4 separate regions of the Homo sapiens genome follow, and all the other regions are linked to region 2. The links are contacts of gene promoters, found by promoter capture Hi-C in blood cells and fetal thymus (Javierre and others, 2016). All regions are on one chromosome and are shown on one strand. Each heading gives the region's core, a stretch centred on a gene start or on the middle of the fragment in contact. The rest is flanking DNA. Distances are from core to core; before and after follow the strand shown.

The links. Contacts are between HindIII fragments. The CHiCAGO score rates a contact against its expected background, and 5 or more counts as called.
Region 1: a contact is called between a fragment that was not itself captured here and the fragment with the promoter of ZBTB25 in region 2, in 1 of 17 cell types (fetal thymus). The highest score is 6.8, in fetal thymus.
Region 3: a contact is called between a fragment that was not itself captured here and the fragment with the promoter of ZBTB25 in region 2, in 3 of 17 cell types (monocytes, total CD8 T cells and neutrophils). The highest score is 7.2, in monocytes.
Region 4: a fragment that was not itself captured here is called in contact with the fragment with the promoter of ZBTB25 in region 2 in 1 of 17 cell types (naive CD4 T cells); the score reaches 5.4 in naive CD4 T cells.

The regions. Positions count from the first base shown.
Region 1 is chr14:63,856,334-63,859,520 of GRCh38, forward strand. The region is part of intron 1 of SYNE2 (spectrin repeat containing nuclear envelope protein 2); the gene reads left to right. Among named protein-coding and RNA genes, the nearest start is that of SYNE2, 4.9 kb to the left of the region's middle. The HindIII fragment of the contact is 5,881 bases long and covers 1-3,187 here.
Region 2 is chr14:64,502,437-64,505,370 of GRCh38, forward strand. ZBTB25 (zinc finger and BTB domain containing 25) reads right to left here and starts at 1,402. Exons shown (of 3, transcript NM_006977.5): 1 at 1,225-1,402. ZBTB1 (zinc finger and BTB domain containing 1) reads left to right here and starts at 2,334. Exons shown (of 2, transcript NM_001123329.2): 1 at 2,334-2,510. RefSeq lists enhancers at 534-653, 714-813, 1,584-1,673, 1,774-2,444 and silencers at 1,134-1,563, 2,164-2,423, 2,534-2,643. The HindIII fragment of the contact is 6,379 bases long and covers 690-2,934 here.
Region 3 is chr14:65,095,713-65,098,532 of GRCh38, forward strand. The region is part of intron 2 of MAX (MYC associated factor X); the gene reads right to left. Among named protein-coding and RNA genes, the nearest start is that of MAX, 5.4 kb to the right of the region's middle. The HindIII fragment of the contact is 1,288 bases long and covers 625-1,912 here.
Region 4 is chr14:63,873,414-63,876,634 of GRCh38, forward strand. All of the region lies in intron 1 of SYNE2 (spectrin repeat containing nuclear envelope protein 2), which reads left to right. Among named protein-coding and RNA genes, the nearest start is that of SYNE2, 22 kb to the left of the region's middle. The HindIII fragment of the contact is 362 bases long and covers 1,352-1,713 here.

The DNA of each region.
Region 1 (3,187 bases), core at 4-2,503, 650 kb before region 2:
CCTAGAATACAAAGCCAGGCTCGCAGACTCTAACGAACCTGTATCTGACCACTATGTCAAAATCAAAAGACAGTCCCTGTCCTGGTGAAGCTGTTAGTCTAGTGGGAAGACAAGCTATTGCAGTATACACATGTGCTCCTGGGGGCTGTGGGAGGAGGGAAGCCCCTAGTTCTGCCTGGGAGTGGGACAGGCCAAATTGGAAACATACAATCATTTTTCCTTTTTTATTATTGTGAAATATTTCAGATTGGCAACATCTTAATTAAGAAATAATATTAAATACAATAGCCTATTCTCTGAGTCTTCACTGTATGTTCCCCTCCTTTTTTTCTTTTTAAAGACAAAATGCTTGCTTTCACATGTACAAAGGATCTGTGTCATAATGCCCCCTTTCCTACTTTCATCAAATAAAAGATTATGTCTGGAGTAGTGTAAATTCACTTATTTTATTTTTTTGAGACAAGGTCTCGTTCTATCACCCAGGCTGGAGTACAGTGGTGCGATCATGGCTCACTGTAGCCTCTACCTCCTGGGCCCAAGTGATTCTCCCACCCCGGCCTCCCAAGTAACTGACTACAGGTGCACACTACCATGCCTGGCCAACTGTGAATTTTTTTGTAGAGAAGAGGTCTCACCATGTTGCCTAGGCTGGTCTCCAACTCCTGGCCTCAAGTGATCCTCCCACCTCAGCCTCCCAAAGTGCTGGATTACAGGCATGAGTCTGCCCTTGGCCTCGTGTTTACATTTGAGAAGTTTTTGACTTATGTATAGACCTGTGGAACTGTCTCCCTGTAGCTCCTTGCTATACCCTGAATCCCTCTTCCTCATCCAGCCAATGATAGCTTTCTGTCTCTGTGGATTAGTTTGCGTTTTTTAGAATGTTATGTAAATGGAATCATGTAGTAAGTTCTCTTCTTTGCCTGGCTTTTGCTTAGCATAATTATTTTGAGACTCATCCACATTGTATCAATAGCTGATTTCTTTTTATTGTTAAGTAATACTCCATTGTACTGATAGACGCCAGTTCATGTATCTTTTCACCCATTGATAGACATTTAGGTTGTTTCTGGTTTTGGGCTATTAAAAATAAAGCTGCCATGAACATTATACACAGTCTTTGTATGCATATCTTTCATTTCCCCTGGGTAGATGTCTAGGAGTAGAATGACTAGATCCTATGGTAGGCATATGTTTAATTTTTCAAAGAACTACTATACTTTTCCAAAGTGGTTATATAATATAACCAAAATAGTCTATGAGGGTTCCAGTTGCCCCAGATCCTTGCCAACAGTTGGGGTGGTTAGGCTTTTATAGCCATTCTGTTGGGTGTGTAGTGACACCTCATTGTGGTTTTAATTTCCATTTCCCTGATGACTAATGATGTTGAGCATCATTTCATATGCTTATTTACCATCCATTTATCTTCTTTGTTGAAGTGTCTACTCAAATTTTTTGCCCGTTTTCTTGCATTGTTTTCCTTCTTATTGAGTTTTGAGAGTTCTTTGTGTATTCTGGATGCAAGTCATTTGTCACGTGTAAGATTTGCAAATATTTCCATTCAGTCTTATCTTAGTCCATTTTGTGCTGCCATTACAGAATACCATAGATTGGGTAATTTATAATGAACAGAAATTTATTGGCTCATGGTTCTAGAATCTGGGAAGTCTAAGATTGATGGGGCGACATCTGGTGAGAGCATTTTTGCTGTATCATTACATGACAGAAGGGCAAAGAGAGGGTGAGAAAGAAGCAAAATGGAGCTGTTTTATTATTTTTATTTTATTATTTATTTATTTATTTAAGACACAGTCTCACTCTGTCACCCAGGCTGGAGTGCAGTGACACAGTCTCAGCTCACTGCAACCTCTGCCTCCTGGGTTCTAGTGATTGTGGTACCTGGGATTACAGGTGTGCGTCTCCACACCGGCCTTTTTTTTTTTTTTTTTTTTTTTTTTTTTTTTGATTTTTAGTAGAGACAGGGTTTCACTGTGTTGGCCAGGATGGTCTTGAACTCCTGGCCTCAAGTGATCTGCCCACCTTGGCCTCCCAAAGTGCTGGGATTACAGGCATGAGCCACTGCACCCAGCCTATTTTTTTTTTTGAGACAGTATCTCGCTGTGTTGCCCAGGCTGGAGTGCAGTGGCTTGATCTCAGCTCACTGCAACCTCTGCCTCCCAGGTTCAAGCGATTCTCCTGCCTTAGCCTCCTGAGTAGCTGGGACTCCAGGTGCGTGCCACCACTCTCAGCCTGATTTATTCCTTTATAAGGAACCCACTCCTGCGATGATGGCATTAATCCATTAATGACAGCAGAGCCCTTATAACCTATCACCTGATAAAAGTTCCATCTCTTAATACTGTAATATTGTAACAGTATTGCCTCTTAATAATGTTACGATGGCGATTAAATTTCACCAGAGTTTTGGAGGGGACATTTAAACCATAGCAAATTTATTACATTCTCTTAACAATATCTTTTGAAGATACTGTTCTTAATTTTGATGAAGTACAATTTGTCAATTTATTCTTTATGGATTGTACTTTTGGTATTATTATCTAAGAAATCTGCCTAATTCAAAGTCAAAAAGGCTTTCTCCTATGATTTTTTTCTAAAATTTTTATAGGTTTTGGTTTAACATTTAGGTTCATGTACTTTAATTTTTGTTTATGGTGTGAATATGGGTGGAAGTTTACCCCACCTATGCCAGGAACATTTGGTAATTTTTGGAGACAGTGTCTGGAAACCATGTCTGGTGTAGGGACGAGGGGCATTTGTTCCCAGCCATCTACTGGGCAGAAGTCTAGGATGCTGCTAGATACCCTACAGTGGATAGGTGAGATCCTCTCAATAGAGAATTATTCAGCCAAAGTGTTAGTAGTGCCAGGGTTGAGACACTCTAGGCTTGAGGTTTATTAATTTTATTGAACTCCATGAACCAGCTGTTGGTTTCATTGATATTGTTTAATATTTTTCTATTTTCCCTTTGATTGATTTTCACTCAGATCTTTATTTTTCCCTTCTACTTTTGGGTTTAATTTGTTCTTATTCCAGTTTCCTTAGGTCATTGATTTGTGACTTTTCTTCTTTTCTGATATAGGTGTTTAGTCTTTTAAATTTATTCCTCAGTACTACTTTAGTGACATCTCACAAATTTTGATATGGTGTGATTTTATTTGTATTTAGTTAA
Region 2 (2,934 bases), core at 152-2,651:
TAAAGAAGACTTTGATGCCTTAACATAAGGAAGCAACCAATGCTGCAAATAATAGAGAACAGCAATGAAACTTTCAGGGGTGGCTGGGGGGTGTAGGCTTTTAGTTCCAAAAATACACCATAGGCGGCCTACCTCACCTAGAAATACCATCAAACCCACACAGTGGCCATGCCTGACTTCTCCATAACCTGAATCAAGCCAAGTATATATAATGACCTCCGCCGGATACATTCTCTACAGGTGAGTGGGGTAAACTGGCACTGCGGTCCTGGCATGGTGGAGAGTGCAATCACCAAGGTGTCTGGAGCCTTGGAGTCTTAGCTATCAAGAGGTGTAGCTAGCTCCAGCTACATCACGCTCTTCAGGCCTGGTGTCTTCTCTGTAAAACGAGAGGGATGAAACAGATTTTCTATAAGGCACCTCTCGGCTCTAAAATTTAAGATTCCAAAGTGTACTTTACATACATGACAGAATCTTGTGAGAGGATCAACAGCTCTGCCAGGACTTGAGTCTCAAGAGAAAGAATGCCAAATTTAATCCCTTGGGGTGATGCGGGCGCTAACTGTTGAAACATGCTAGGTGCCGTCAGGTTCCAGGTACTACGTTGTGCTATGCGCTGCCTCCGCAACTGGTAACAACTGATTACTCCAAATACTGAGTGCCAGAGAAGACGGTGATAAGATGGGTCAAGCTTCAAAAAGAAAAACCGGATATGCTTAGAACAAGATAAACATAATTTGAAGATAGAAAAGGGGGGGATGTCTTCTTGCCCTAGAAACGAGGTAATCACAAGCTGGGAGTGGAAACAGTAGCCGCAGCGTCCTCCCAGCATCTGGAAAGTCGCCCGCTCGTAAGAGGGGTCGGCGCTACCCGAGGGAGGCCGCAGGCCTACTGGGGTTTCCTGCTGGGGGTCGCACCCGGACCCGCGGCCGGGACGGCTCTGCACCTTCGCGGCACCCCGTGTGCCACCCTGAATCAGGCCCCGGCAGCCGCTCCTACGAGCAGCAAAGGGTGGTTCTGGGTATTGTCGGCCCAGCGCTCACTCGCGGATGTATTTTCCTCCTGTGCCCTGCCTGACATCTCAATCGGACCAAAAACACCCCTCTCCCCAGCTACTTGCATCTGTCCCGCGACTGGTGCAGCTGCAGGCCGCCGCCCTGGGTGGCTCGCGGCAGGAGGGACTGAGCCCGGGGCAGCCCACAGGGGCAGGACCGCGTCGCTTACCCAGATGCCGCCGCGGCGGCAGGCCGACTCCTCCGTGCAGGAGGGGCGGGCTCCCAAGCCGCGCACTGCAAGCAGTGGCGCCGGCTCACGCACCCCTCGGCCGCCTCTCGCGCGGCTTCCCGCGCCGGCAGCCCGCGATGGCCCCACGTGACCGCGTGTCTGGTAGCAGGGGAAAGAGGGGCGCCAGGGCCGGGGTGTGCGTGCGTGCGTGCGTGCGTACGTGCGCGCCCTCCCGCCCGCCCGCCTCAGTGGCCGGGCGGGGGTCGGCCCGCGCTCTGAGTGCCGCCGCCACAGTTCGCAGTTGTGACTCTGTAGGCGGAAGCATAGGGACAAGCCTGAGCGTCACAGGCTCCCCACAAACAACCGCGTGACCCGGGGACTTTCCCCAGGGTGTGCAAAAGCACAGGCACCCCCTCAGTTCTGGGGTGAAGGTGGGGGTGGGGAAGGATGCGCCCGCGTGTTCGCTGGGGAAGGGATGAGGGCGCGGGGCCAGGGAGGCCGAGCCGCGGGAGCCTGGGTGGAGAGGCGGACTGGGCGAGGTGGGGCATGGCGGGGGAAGTGACTCAGGGCCAGAGGCAGCAGGCCCACGGAAGGTGGGGTCGGGGGGGCGCGGGGACTGGGCGACCCTGAACCGACGGGGCAGGGCGAGGTTGCCGGAGCACTCGAGGCGGACCGCGAGTGACGGCCCAGCTGCTGGGCCCAACGGGCAGGGGTCTGACATCTGGACGGAGTGGGAAAGCAGCCTCGCATCCTGCCCTGGGGAGTCGGGAGGAGCCCAGTTCCATCCAGCTGTGCAAACAGGAGGAGGAGGAGGTCCCAAGCCTACCCTTGAGAGGGGCAAGAGGGGTGGTCAAGCCGCCGCCGCCGCGACGGCCCCCGCGGTGCGGGTTGCGCCAGCCTCCTCGGAGCTCGACGCAGAAACTTGTTGCAACAAACAGGCGACCGCGGGTGCCCCTAGCAGCCAGCGGCAGAGTGGGTGGGCGGGCGAGAGGGAGGGGAAGGCTGGCGGACGCCGCAGCGAACTGGTGGGCAGACCCGGAGTCGCCGCGTAAGCGGGGCCGGCTCAGTGCGGTGCGGCAGGCGCGGCTGTGCGGCAGCGGAAGTCCTTTGTTGCAGCACAGTCCCTGGCAGAGCCAGAGCCTCTCCGCGCAGCCCAGCCCGAGCGCCGAGCGCCGCGCGCCGCCGCCACTGCAGCTCGCGGCCCCTTCGCCTTCGCCCGCCTTTCCCGCGGCTGATTTGCCTTAAACTCCCTAAAATCTCCGCAGCTCTGGTTCCTGTTGCGGCCGGTAAGTATTTGCCAGTTGTGGGGCTATTTGCGCAACTTTGGCCCAGGCCGGAGGGCGACGGGCCGCGGGCCTGGCGGAGTGCGGGGCCGGAGGGGCGCCGATCCGTGCGGGGAGCCGGAGCGCGGCGGACGCGCTGCGAGGACCCGGTGACGGGCGGCTGCCAGGCCGCCTGCTTGTTGCCGGCGCGTCAGGTCCCGGGCGTGCGGCCTCCCTGAGTCGGAGGCGAAGCCCCTACGGAGACTAGTTCCCAAATTAGTTACCTTCTTTTCTTTCTTTCTCTGCCTTTATTTTTTTCGAGGGGGGAGGGGAGGTGTAGACGGGAGGCGGGAGAACCCGGTTGATTGACGTGCCTAGAGCCCGCTTCTCTCAACTTACAGCTGCGGCTCGGCGGCGGGTGGGAGGGGAAGTGTCCCGGAGCCCGAGG
Region 3 (2,820 bases), core at 19-2,518, 590 kb after region 2:
AGAGCAGCCCAAGATACTCCTGTCTACTAAATCACCCTGATTCTTGGCCCTCCTCCCAGCTAAGAGCTGTGCACCAGAATTACCCACAATCCCTCTTGTTGATACAAATAAAATTCTAATTGTCTGTTTTCTTTCTGGGAGAGCCCTGCAAATCTCAAACAGCTAGAATGAAGTTGCACTTGGTTTCACGTGGACCTGCACTAAAGGGGTGGAGCTAAGTATAATCTAACACCAAAATCATCCCCACAATGCACTACCCCCTCCCATTCACTGAGCTCTGAAAGGACTCAAATGGACAAGTCTCTCGGTTGGAGGATTGTAAGTGAACTTGGCTGTAGATCATGAGCAGAAATCTTGGCTTCTCATCTGGGGAGCCAGCCAAGTTTGAGAAGTTGGCTCAACAAGGAAAGGCAGCAGTCCACTGCCTGGTAGAAAGCCTGGGCTGGGGACTGTTGTTCTCAAAGTAGTGGATGGAATTTCTGTAGTGGTTCCAGGCCCAATTTAACTAGCAGAAGAGTGGAATCTTACACCAATCCCTGCTGCCATGTCCATCCCTGAGCTACTAGTGGAGTCAATTTTAAATCTCTCAGAGACAATGGCAAGGATGTATTTTTCTCTTCCCCAAGCTTGATTTGAAAGAACAAGTTAAAAACATGCAGAACTAACAAGCCTAATTCCAGGCAACTGTGAATTAAATGTTATCACTAATGTTTTGAAAGAGCACATGAAAAACAGAAAAACCTTTACACAAGGCTGAGAATTCTCTGTGGGAAACATTTCCAAACCACAGATCCACCCAGACCAATAACACTGCCCGCGCCTCATCCCCACCCCCATTGGAGGACTAGTTTGCAGGCTTTATCACTGCCTTGTTAACTGTCTTTGCTTGCTGGCAACCCTTTTTGAGAGGGCCAAGATTTCAGAGTTGAAGAAGAAAAACTGGGTGAAGACTCCCAGTGTAAGGCATCTAATATCCTCCCCCAAATGCAAAACTGGTTTTAAAAAACAAGCCCAAACAATTGTCTTGAACAAATAAAACTCTACTCAGATGAGCCTGTACTGAGAATGATGTTCAGTAATGAAAACAAATGGTACGGAAAACCCCCTTGTGGAATTAATTAGGCCCTATTCTAGGAGACCACAGAGGTATTCTTGGACTGTACAGCAGGCTCCCAAACATCTCCCCTACACATCCTATGGTTACAGTGGCTGGATGCTGCCCACTCTTCTAGTACGCTGGATTTGTACGTCTGGATGTCTGCCAGAAAACCCTTCCTCCAGGGCATCCCTAACAGAAATACTAAGGGGCTATGCAGTGGTCCACAGATGCTCAACAGAAACTCCCGCACCAAATCACTTCCAGCTTTGACATCTCTGCCAAAGTTTTTATTCAGCCTCTCAGTTATATTTCTACCCAACTTTCCACACTGGTAGACAGAATAAAAATCTTCACCTACAATTTGTCCATCTTTGACACTACCAAGCACGTGTATCTTAAGTGTTGTTAGATGTTGAAGACAAACATTATTTTGTTAGCCAAGAAGTTGCTATGTTGGCAAGAAGTCATCTAGGCTAAGGAGGTCTGTTCAAAATTGAGGGAAATCTCTTAAAATTATTTCCTTCCAACTTACTGCAGAGAGACTGCATCTTTGTTCAAGGCATCACATCAGTCAGTAATCTTATTTCCTCCAAGTTCTAGGCAAATAGCACGGGGAAATAAATGCTTCATTATTCCAGGATGCACAAGGTTCTCCAGAACAATGCCATGTCTTACAGGCTACCTGACAGCTAACCCCACCTATAAGGGGAACCATCTCAATTCTAATACAGAAAATTCTCAGCATATAGGGAATTAGTTGCCCACTCAATATTTACTACCTTTACAAAATGTGAAGGTTGTATTTTAGAGGGAAGCTTGTGTTGCTTATGATTCTTATCAAGCTATTCTTATTAGAGACTAAGGACACGAGAATACACAGACCCAAAAATCTCATCCGAAAAGATCTATTTCTTACTTCTGATAGATAAGAACAAGATAGGATAAAGCTCAATTTCTAAGCAACTTAAAATATTCATTTTAATCAACCCAAAAATTATAACATAAAATAATAGGCAGGTAGGATGGGATAAACTCACCAAGCTCCCTAAGAGAAAGACATGGATTTCAATTTTCCAATACCTGTCCTGCTTGTAGCTGATTGCCTGGTATACATTTCCAACATTATCTAATGTATGTATTTGTTTTCAAACTTTTTTCTTTTGGTGCCTAAAATAACTGGCAAATGCTATAATCCAAACAGGGCCTCATACTATAGCCATTTCAGAGAAGGATGCCTTGGTCAGGAAATTTTAATTAAAAACCAAGCTGAATTCTTTGACCAACTATTTCACCGTTACTGGCATCTTGGAAAAATTCTTTTAGACATAAGAACAACTTTTACCCTAACACAGGCACATTTAGGAACTAACTCTGGCATTTGTTATCACTGTAAGCATCACTGTCAACACTCTAAGCAGAGAAAAAGTACATGCATTGTGCAGCACTTTTGCCATGCAACTGACTGCAGGTAAAACAGACAGTAGTTTCCTGAGTGAATTCCAATCTCGGAGGCTACCAAGCTCGTTCTCTTCTGAATATTCCTAAAGAAGCAAAGAGCTCTGAGAAGTTAAAAATATTTCATGCCAGAAAGGTCCAGAAGTGGAATTGCACAAATCTGTTTTCAAACCCCTCACAAGTATACTGCAACTGCAACTCAGTCAGGTGCCATCAAGGATGGTCACTGGAAAAAAAATTGCATTTCCTGACCAACACACTAACCC
Region 4 (3,221 bases), core at 283-2,782, 630 kb before region 2:
TAGATGGAGTCTAGCTCTGTTGCCCAGGCTGGAGTATAATGGCACGATCTCGGCTCACTGTAACCTCCGCCTCCCGGGTTCAAGCGATTCTTTTGCCTCAGCCTCCCAAGTAGCTGGGAGTACAGGCGCCCAACACCACGCCTAGCCAATTTTTGTATTATAGAGATGGGGTTTCACTGTGTTAACCAGAATGGTCTTGATCTCCTGACCTCGTGATCCACCTGCCTCGGCCTCCCAAAGTGCTGGGATTACAGGCGTGAGCCACTGCACCCGGCCAAGTACTTACCTTTGTAAGAAATCATAAGATTCTCATTTTTTTCTCCATTAACTACATAAAGCAGGACAATGGTTGGCACCATTGCTTCCTCACTGAACTGTGGATGGGTCTCAGCATGCAAAGGAAGTAGAAAGTGAATGGGAGGACGGCGGCTGTTGCTCAGAAGTTCCTTCCATAATTTGATTTATTAACACTATTTGGGTTGTTCATGGCTTGGTTTTCCCTCCCTTTTTCCTCCAGTGAACGGTGACTTGACAGAGGTACATAGGAGGCTACTTGTTCTCTTGTTGGCTGCTTGTATTTGCTTTCTGGAAGGTTATTGTTTTCAAGGATCTTAAGCACCTGGATTAGGACAGTTAAAAACCATTTGTTAGCTTGGAAAATGTCATCTTCCTCTTTATCCTGCTGTCCTGGCTGTGTGCTTCCTTCTCTCCCTTCCTGTATCTCTCTTCCTTACAGATTGCTTGCATTACGTATCTATGAGATGTCCGTCTGTCAGAGTGTTTAACGTGTTGTTCATTGTAGTTCTTTAAAACCTTCTTATAGTTGCACAAAAAGACGTAAACATTTAAAAATACTTTTGGTACTGGAGGTTGCCTTTTCCTGGAGCATTGCATCTGATTTCCTTGTTATTTGTAGACTAAATCCTACTGAACGCTGTGGCTCTCCCTGCCTGCCCTCTGCTCCACTGTCTCTGCTTCTCACCTCCTGGCTCTGCAGGCCTCTTTTGTTGTTGGGAGCTAACAAAGTACCATAATTTGCTAGATGTCGCAGGAAGATGACAGGCCAAGGGGTTCCAGGAAGGATATCTATGTAACCTGCCTGAGCTCTCTTATCTTTAAAATTGCCACTAACTAGCCTTGTCTCTCTTGGGAATAGCCAGAACTTTAGAGTTAAGAATGTTGTTCAAAAGAAAGATGTTTATTTTTAGAGGCAGAAAATATTTTGAGCCTATTTGCCATAACTGCTTTTTTTTAAGAAACAAAAACTAATGGACTTTACAAGTGGGTAACCTCAAAGGGAAAACAAAAATCTTGCAAGAAGATTTAGCAATGTTTAAAAGTTTGGAAAACAAGCTTCATTAAGTAACTTTTTATGTTTGCTTAGTCAAAATTAATATTACTATAATTATTCTGAAATTCTCTTTTTCCTTGCATTTCTTGCCAAATAACCTGATTTAATGACATAGAAAATAAAAAATGTCAAAGGGGAAAAGTATTTAAAGACATTTTGTTGTTGGTACAAAGGGTGTGGTGTTATCACTAGGAGACAAGCAGAGTTCTCAGAGATGGTGTCATCTAAATTAATTTTATCTTCTTCATGATCACATGGATAAAAAAATTCAAACCTCTGATTTTTTTTTTTTAAATGGGGTGTTGCTATGTTGTCCAGGCTGGAGTGCAGTGGCTACTCACAGGTGTGATCATGGTGCACTAAGCTTTAAACCATTGGGCTCAAGTGATCCTCCTGCCTCAGCCTCCCAAGTATCTGGGACTACAGGTGTGCATCACTTTGCCAAACTTTCAAGTCTTTGATTTTTAAGGAATCCTGATTTTATTTTAGCAGGATAATTTTTACTTTATGAGGCCCAGTTTCATGTAATAATGCAGCATGTGATATAGATAAAAATCAAAGACCAGAGCTAACAGAATGGCCCTTCCTTCTCATAGCATCTTTATGAACAGTTGTGAGTAAAGGTGATTCCCAAAACCCTTTACAGATACTAAGTTCTATTTAAAGATTCACAATAACAATGACAACATTTTAGGGCTCTCTTCCAACACCATCACTTCCTCCTTCTCCTGGGAAGTTAAGCTTGGGGTGGAGGAGGTGCAGTGGTATTCCTGGACTAGCACGCCCATGCTGTTGCCTGCGTTTGTGGAAACAGAGACCTTTATGGGACACTGAGCAAGGGGATTGGTGATGTAGAAATATGTTGTTGGAGACTAACAGAATAGAAAAAAAAAATGAAGTGAGTAACACTTGTCAACCTCAGCCAGTCATGGGGGGAAATACCTTCACATATTAAACAATAACAAATAAAATGTTTGAAATGCCGATATTTATAGTAAATTGCTTTTTCTGTCTTTTGGCACGAATCTTAAGAGGTACATTTGAGGGACAACAGTGTATGGGCCGAAGGGAGGCGTCACTGCCCAGGTGGAAGAGCCTGCTCTTGCCCTCTGCAGTTCTTCAAGGTTCCCAGACCGGTGACTTGATGCGAGAAACCCCAGGGCAGAAGGGAGACTGGCCAAAGTGCATGTTGCAAGGGGTGCATCTTAAAGACCCCTCTGATTGACTTGGCTGTACTCTAGGGAGGTCTGTGGACCAGGATCACCCCAGCGATTCCAGTTTAAACTATGATGGACCTGTTTTATGAAGGTACAGGTATGAGTTTGGTGACTATGGATTGAGCTAGTTGTTTAAAACTTATTTAATCGGCTGGACGTGGTGGCTCACACTTGTAATCCTAGCACTTTGGAAGGCTGAGATGGGAGGATTGCTTGAGCCAAGGGGTTTGAGACCAGCCTGGGCAACACAGCGAGACTCTATCTCTACAAAAAAAAAAAAAAAAAGTTAGCGGGGTGTGTTGGCACACGCCTGTAATTCCAGCTACTTGGGAGGCTGAGGTGGAGCCAGAAGTTCAAGGCTGTAGTAAGCTATGATCATACTGCTAAACTCCAGCCTGGGTGACAGAGCAAGACCCTGTCTCAAAAAACAAACAAAATCTTATTTAATTGCAGTAGTGGATACCATTATATTTTTTTTAATTAAAAAAAACAAGCAACAAGCAAATATGTTCCTTTTTTTTTTTGAGACCGAGTCTCGCTCTGTTGCCCAGGCTGGAGTGCAGTGGCGTGATTTCCGCTCACTGCAAGCTCCGCCTCCCAGGTTCATGCCATTCTCCTGCCTCAGGCTCCCGAGTAGCTGGGACTACAGGCGC